Regions from separate parts of the Homo sapiens genome. Here region 2 is linked to region 1. Evidence: promoter capture Hi-C in human tissues and cell types (Jung and others, 2019). All regions are on one chromosome and are shown on one strand. The core of a region is centred on a gene start or on the middle of the fragment in contact, and the rest is flanking DNA. Distances in the headings are between cores, read along the strand shown.

Region 1 (4,109 bases), core at 888-3,387:
AAGAGGGAGGAGAGGAGAGAGGAAGAAGAATGCCAGGCGGCAGGAAGAGCAGAGTGACTTCATTGGTAAGACAGCGGGCATCCTGGGAAAGAGCCAGCCAAGTGAGGCAGGAAGGAGGGCCTTCTTCAGTATTTATCCTAAAAGCAAGAAGGGAACCACTGAAGCATTACTAGGGGTGCTAGGATAAGATGCACATTTTATATATTTTTTTACAGATGGGGTCTCACTGTGTTGCCCAGGCTGGAGTGCCATGGCATGATCATAGTTCACTGCAGCCTCAACTCCTGGGCTCCAGCGATCCTCCCACCACAGCCTTCCAAATAAGGCTGTGCACTTTAAAAAGGTCACTCCGCTACTCGGAAGAGAGAAAAATAAAATCACTCAGTGCAAATGAACAGACTGGGGAATGAGCAAGAGCAGAAGCAGAGAGTTTACAGGGAGGCTGGTACAGAGTTCCAGGTGACAGGGGATGGCCCTTCAGCCTAGCCTGCTAGGGGCGGGGGGGTCAAAAATGGGGAGAAGAGAAAGGTGTACCTGTTCTTAGGTTTCACCAAAACCTCGGAGGATTAAAGGTGGACGAGGAAAACCATGAGTATGTTAAACTAATATTTATACTGAAACCCAACTATATATGAAGCCCTCAGACATAAAAAAGAGAAGGAACTTCCCTCTTGTGGGGAAATGGACAGATAAACACACAAATAAAGTCCAACGTACCAACGACCTTAAAGGAGGTAAAGGGATGGGAGGAGTTAAGGAAAGCTTCCTGGCGGGAGGTAACATCTACTTGAACTTTTATTTTCTGTAGAGACGGGGTCTCACTATGTTGCCCAGGCTGGTCTCAAACTCCTGGCCTCAAGCGATCCGCCCACCTCAGCCTCCCAAAGTGCTGGGATTACATGCCTGAGCCACCTCACCTAGCCAGACCTGGGTTTTTAAATTATTAGTAGTAATTGGCTATACAAAAGAGCTGACGAAGTTGGCTGTGAAAGTTTAATGTGATGACTCCGATACACACCGATATAGTATGTATCGGAGTTCCGGATACTAAACAGGGGCTCAATCGGCATCTTCCATGAACATTTTAGACACGGGGTCTCTCTCCGTAGCCCAGGCTGGAGTGCCGTGGCACGATCATAGCTCACTGCAGCCTCCAACTCCTGGGTCCCAGCAATCCTCCCACCACAGCCTCCCAAGTAAGGATGTGCACTTTAAAAAGACCACTCTGCTACTTGGAAGTGAGAAAAATAAAATCACACAGTGCAAATGATGAACGGACTGGGGAATGAACAAGAGCAGAAGCAGGGAAATTAGAGGGAGGCTGGTACATAGTTTGCAAAGGACTCTCCTGACAGCCGCCGGGGCAGCAAGAGAAAATGCCTACCAAGCTCGCGGCGCAGGGGCCGGTTACTGGGGGAAAGGGAGGGGTATCCCTCTGGATGACACCAGGCTTGCTCCCTTGACAGATGGACTAACCCAGAAACTCACCCAACTTCAACGCCTGAATACGCAGAGCGCTCAGCCTGGCGGGCTGACACCACTCCAGGGCTACTCGCTATTATCAAGAGGAAGCCTGGAAACGCAGGCGGGGCCACTGCCCAGGAAGAGGGGAGGGCGGGCCCCGGGCTGGGCCGGGCGCGGGCACCGACGCCAGGCAGCTCCAGTCCGGGCCGGAAGCCGGAATCCCCTCCCAGGCGGCGCGCGGCAGCAGCCGCAGCAGGTGGGCGGGCCCGCGAGCCGGGAGGACCGCTGATTGGCCGCGGCCGGCGCGCCCTCTGACCTCACGCCGACGCCAGCGGCGCCCTCCTCCCGCCTTCTCCCGCACCCCCCTCCCCCAGCGCCGGCCGGTCGGCTCCCACCTGACCCGCCAGTCCCACGCTCCTCAGGGCCTGGATCCGCGACCCCCGCCAGCCCCCTAAGCTCCGGCCCCTCACCATTTCCGCACTTTCTCGATGGCCGCCATCACCTTCTTGATGTCGTCCTTGGCCCGGCTGCGGGTCTCCGCCCGGACCGACCGGCCCGACATGGCGGCGGCGGGAGCGGCGGGGGCCGGGGCACTGCTCCCAAGACACCGGGGATCGCGCGCCTCACGCGCCGCCGCCCGCCCGCCGCCGCCGCAGCGTCACAGCGGCCGTCGCCCCCTCCGTGCGCGCGTGCGCGAGAAAGCGCGCGCACCCGCCCGCCCCTTGGGGCTCACGGCCTCAGCGCGCCTGCGCGCCCCGCCCGGGGCGTCCCTCCTGAGTGCCCCGGGAGTCCCCTGAGCCCCCTACCCGGGCCGGGGTGCGAGGCGGGTTGGGCGCACGTGCTTGTGGTCAGGGCGAGGTGCGAGGTGCCGCCGGTGGGCAACCTGGTTCTCTTCCCTGAGAGTTTGGAGGTCGGCTCCCTGCTCTGGCCAGCGTGTTAGGAACCTGACCCTGTGGAACCGCACTCCTGCGCCATCTCTGTCCTCCCGCCTCTCCTGCCCAGCACCTTTGCCCTCTGGCTCCTACGCTGTGCTCCAACCACGCCTTTCTTAAGGATGGCTTCCGGTCTTTGCACACACCTGTTCCTCACCTGGAATCCCCTCCTCTCTTTACCAGATGAACTGCTTTCCCAGCATTCAGACCACATTCTTGCCTTTTCTCGAGTATCTAGTAGTCCCAAGTATTTGGGAGGCTGAAGCGGGAGGATCACTTGACCCCAGGAATTTGAGGCTGCCGTCAGCTATGATATGATCGCACCTGTGAATAGCCACTGCACTCCAGCCTGGGCAACATATGGAGACCCCATGTCTAAACGAGACCCCGTCTCTAAAGTAAATAAATAAAAAGATGTCTATTTTGTGCAAGACTCTGTACCTAAAGCTGAAGACATACGTGGTTTTGGTTTCAAAGAGCTTCCAGTTTGTTTATTTATTGAGACGGAGTCTCGCTCTGTGACTCAGGCTGGAGTGCAGTGGTGTGATCTCCGCTCACTGCAACCTCCGCCTCCCGGGTTCAAGCGGTTCTTCTGCCTCAGCCTCCTGAGTAGCTGGGATTACAGGCGGGTGCCACCACGCCCAGCTAATTTTTGTAATTTTAGTAGAGACGGGGTTTTATCATGTTGGTCAGGCTGGTCTGGAACTCCTGACCTCGTGATCTGCCCGCCTTGGCCTCTCAAAGTGCTGGGATTACAGGCGTGAGCCACCACGCCTGGCCTTTTTTTTTTTGAGACGGAGTCTCGCTCTTTTGCCCAGGCTGGAGTACAGTGGTGTGATCTCGGCTCACTACAATCTCCGCCTCCCGGGTTCAAGCAATTTTCTGTCTCAGCCTTCCGAGTAGCTGGGATTATAGTCGTCCGCCATCACACCCAGCTAATTTTTTTATTTTTAGTGGAGATGGGGTTTCACCATGTTGGTCAGGCTGGTCTTGAACTCCTGACCTCGTGATCCACCTGCCTCGGCCTCCCAAAGTACTGGGATTACAGGCGTGAGCCACCGCACCCGGCCCAGTTTATTTATTCATGTGGAGAGGGGATCTCACTATGTTGTCCAGGCTGGTCTTGAACTCCTGGTCTCAAGGGATCCTCACAAAGTGCTGGGATTACAGGCATGAGCCACTGTGACTGGCTGAGCTTCCAGTTTAGTAGAACATTCAGACGAAAAAAAAATATTTATTTTTTACTTTTACTTATTTTTTGGTACAGGGCCTTGCTCAAGTGATCCTTCTGCCTCAGCCTCCTGTGTAGCTGAGACCACAGGCGAGGGCCACCATGCCTCGCTGACATTTTTTTTTTTTTTTTTTTGGTAGAGACAGGGTCTTCCTATGTTGCCCAGGTTGGTCTTGAACACCTGGACTCAATTGATCCTCCTTCCTCGGCCTCCCACAGTGCTGGGATTGCAGACGTGAGTCACTGGGTCCAGCTTCCCAAAGCATATTTAAAATGCTATTTGATAAATGCTAGCCTAGGCGGAGCATGGTGGCTCACGCCTGTAATCCCAGCACTTTGGGAGGCCAAGGTGGGTGGATCATTTGAGGTCAGGAGTTTGAGATCAGCCTGTCCAACGTGGCAAAACCCCATCTCTACTAAACATACAGAATTAGCTGCTTGGAAAGCTGAGGCAGGAGAATCGCTTGAACCCAGGAGGTGGA
Region 2 (3,513 bases), core at 970-3,469, 630 kb after region 1:
ATAGGAGAGAAGCAGTTGTCTTAGGAAGGTGTGTTACGTTTGGGCTGGGCATGGTGGCTCACACCTGTAATCCCAGCACTTTGGGAGGGTGAGGCAGGCAGACCACCTGAGGTCAGAAGTTGGAGACCAGCCTGGCCAACATGGTGAAACCCTGTTTCTACTAAAAATGCACAAATTAGCCAGGTGTGGTGGCACATGCCTGTAATCTCAGCATCCTTAGGAGGCTGAGACAGGAGAATCTCTTGAACCCGGGAAGCAGAGGTTCCAGTGAGCCAAGATTGTGCCACTGCACTCCAGCCTGGGTGACAGAGTGACAGTCTGTCTCAAAAAATTTTTCTTTTCCTTTTTTTTTGTTTCTCCAGCCATTCTCTGTAACAGTCTTGTGGTACATCGAGCAGAGTGCCTCACCTGGGGCGCTGGCGGCGTAGCTCAGCGGAAGACCGCTTTACTTGTTTTGCTTATTCCACTCTGGGCACACTTGAATCCTGTTTGTCTCCCCTCCTAGGTCCCGCGGCAGTGCTGGTGGCCATGGTTCCCGTAGCCAGAAGGAGTTGCCCACAGAGCCCCCCTACACAGCATACGTAGGAAATCTACCTTTCAATACGGTTCAGGGCGACATAGATGCTATCTTTAAGGATCTCAGCATAAGGAGTGTACGGCTAGTCAGAGACAAAGACACAGATAAATTTAAAGGTGAGTTTGGGGGATTCTTATTGTATATTACTGTAAAGTGTAGGGGAGGATGGGAAGGGGTTCTAAATAAAAATAGATTTGTGAACCAGAGGCTGTAATCAAGAAAGTGTTTTAAACATTTGCCTGGTCTAAGTGGCCGAAAGAAACATAACTCTTCAACTCATAGGTCTTCAGTTCACTTAGGGGAAAATGTTTTGTACACAGTGTAGTTCATAGAAATACATGGCATATGCCCAGGTTTGTGAGCCTGACCTCTACAGCAGTCCTGTCTGCCAGTAAAGGAGTTCCCCAGGAGAGAGAGGAATAGAGCCGAGGACTCTTAGGCACATTCCTCCTGGAATGACTCGTAGATTTTCCTTGGTAGTTAATCCAGTAATCATATGGTACTGTCATCCAGTAATCATAAAACCCAGAAGAGAAGCAGCCAGTGCTGTCAGTATGCATTTGTAAATTTGGAGAGTGTGCTTGGGAGGGCTGGCTGAGATTTCAGATATGGTGTCTATAGGTCGTGTGTCTGCAGGGTGCGGGAGCAAAGAGCAGGAAGAAGAAGGGATCCGAGCAGCATTCTCCTGCCTGCAGGGCTTCCTGAAGGAAGTGTGCCTGCTGTGTAAGTGCACGATGCTAGGACCCAGGATGTTTGGCCCGCATAATCCACCCAAAAGCACATCTGTGACAAGTATGGGGTAACTTGGGGCGGGGAGCTGTGCCAGCAGTCGAGAAGGCCTTGCTGACCTGGGTGGTTTTGTGTGTCGGTGGCACTCTTACTCTTTTTGACTTCAGAATCTGAAGCCACATGTAGTGTGTAATCAAACAGTGAAAACAAATATATCAGTTACACTTGTGAAGTAAGCTCCAGGAAGCATTAGGAACTAAACTTTGGGTTGGAGTGTGTGGGTGAGCCTAGCCTTTGGGCTGGGTCAGTCGCTGCAGGCTTTGGAGTTTGGCTCATGAAGGACCATCTTCATTTGAGCAGCTCTAGAAGATGAGATTGGGTGTCTGTTGCTTCTGTGAAGTTGGGGGTAGTTTTCTCCATTATTCTCAACATTGAATCCACTTAGGGAGGAAACCTGGGGGGACATCCCTCCAGCCAAGGCAGTATGTTCTTAACACACAGTTGGTAAACAGGGAAAGTTTGGACTCAGGCCTTTAGAGCACTTGCGGTCTAGTGGGCTTCAAAGATGAAGTGTGATTATTAAGTTATTATACACAGGGCAAGGACGCTGGGGGAGAGGGGATGCAGGGTGTAGTGCCAGCATCTGGGGAGTAATGAACTAGATTTAGACTCCAGACAGCAAGGAAGGGGCAATGTCAGACCCCTGGCATCAGGGACACAGGTTGTCAGTAACAGGTACTTGGACCCAGGCTGCCTGTCTTTTAATTAACATTCAGAGAAGAATGCCCTGATTGCCAAGGATATATTTTCAGCTTTGTGAAGCAAATTTTATGTCAGTTACCTGAGTAGTAAGTTAAATCGGCACTTTAAGCCTCTTTCTTCAGAGCATTTTAGGTACCAAGTTTGAAATCTACGAAATCTAATCCTCACTTAGATTAAATAGTCATTCAGAAGTCAGAAGAGCTCTGCAGATGGCCTGAGAAAGGTTTGAATATTATGGTTAAAACATTCAAGAAGAAAGCTTTCTAGAAACGCAGCTGCTATTTCAGTGCATGTTCAGTTAGCATTTTCTGACTGATAAAATAGAATTGAGAGGGAGGAATGCCAGTCAGGGTTCTATCTATTGAAAGGCTCTCCTAGTCTGCCATCATCTAGACAACAGAATGGTAGTTGTGACGTGGAGAAGTAGTATGAATAGGATCTTCCCACATCTTTAACCCAGAATTACTTGAGGAAATCGGGGTCTTCTTTTCTTTTCCAGGATTCTGCTATGTAGAATTCGATGAAGTGGATTCCCTTAAGGAAGCCTTGACATACGATGGTGCAGTAAGTATCCTCGGGTTTTCTCTGTCATAGCAGTTGAGATTGTTTTCTTTGCCAATACTTACACTATTTTCCCTTTATCATTAGCTGTTGGGCGATCGGTCACTTCGTGTGGACATTGCAGAAGGCAGAAAACAAGATAAAGGTGGCTTTGGATTCAGAAAAGGTGGACCAGATGACAGAGGTGATTGGTTCTTCTAAAGCTGAACATCATAAAGATTTGCAGTATGCCTACCAATTCCAACTCGTGAACGTTCCTAGTAGAACTCGATTATCTCATAGGTGTGATAGGTTCTCGTGAGCTCTTAAAAGTTTGCGTAAAATCCTAGAAAGAATGGCTGATGCTTCTGCAAGCCTGGCGTTTTTTGTTTTCTGTTGGAAGCAAAAGCTCTTAAAATGATTTCATTGAACCTTCCATCACTTGAGTTGTATGTCTTCCAAATGAATTTTTCCATGTTTGCGCAGCAAGGTAATGACACGACCTCAACTTTATCTTTTTTGTGTATCCTCAGGAATGGGTAGCTCTCGAGAATCTAGAGGTGGATGGGATTCCCGGGATGACTTCAATTCTGGTATCAGTATTTAAAGTATCACCACTTAATTTTTCCTAGGAGCCTTGCTGCTGTTCTCTGTTTCTTACGAGTAGCCCGCCTGGCCGGACTACTTATTTAGTTCCTTTAACAAATACAACTCTCCTGCAGGGTGCCCAGGCATGCAAGTAAGCCTCTGTTAGAGCCTGTGGGGGCAGGACTTGAGCCCCATGCACCTTGTGTGGTCACCTTTGTTAGCCTGCAGCTCCTTGGATGTGTACGGGCCTGGGTCCTTGAGCTCGCTCAGCAGTCTTTCTCAGACTCTAGCCCAGGGAAACTCCTCTGTGGTTTTGT

Evidence for each region. The method cuts DNA at HindIII sites, captures the fragments that hold promoters and counts their contacts. A contact is called where the count stands out against the background at its distance.
Region 2: a fragment that was not itself captured here is called in contact with the fragment with the promoter of BCL7B in region 1 in 1 of the 25 tissues and cell types used here (aorta).

What each region holds. Positions count from the first base shown.
Region 1 is chr7:73,555,553-73,559,661 of GRCh38, forward strand. BCL7B (BAF chromatin remodeling complex subunit BCL7B) reads right to left here and starts at 2,138. Exons shown (of 6, transcript NM_001707.4): 1 at 1,935-2,138. The coding sequence starts at 2,026. RefSeq lists silencers at 1,474-1,923, 1,944-1,993, 2,014-2,123, 2,174-2,413. The HindIII fragment of the contact is 6,991 bases long and covers 1-4,109 here.
Region 2 is chr7:74,187,106-74,190,618 of GRCh38, forward strand. EIF4H (eukaryotic translation initiation factor 4H) reads left to right here. Exons shown (of 7, transcript NM_022170.2): 2 at 506-693; 3 at 2,568-2,632; 4 at 2,717-2,813; 5 at 3,142-3,201. Among named protein-coding and RNA genes, the nearest start is that of MIR590, 2.3 kb to the right of the region's middle. The HindIII fragment of the contact is 6,566 bases long and covers 1-3,513 here.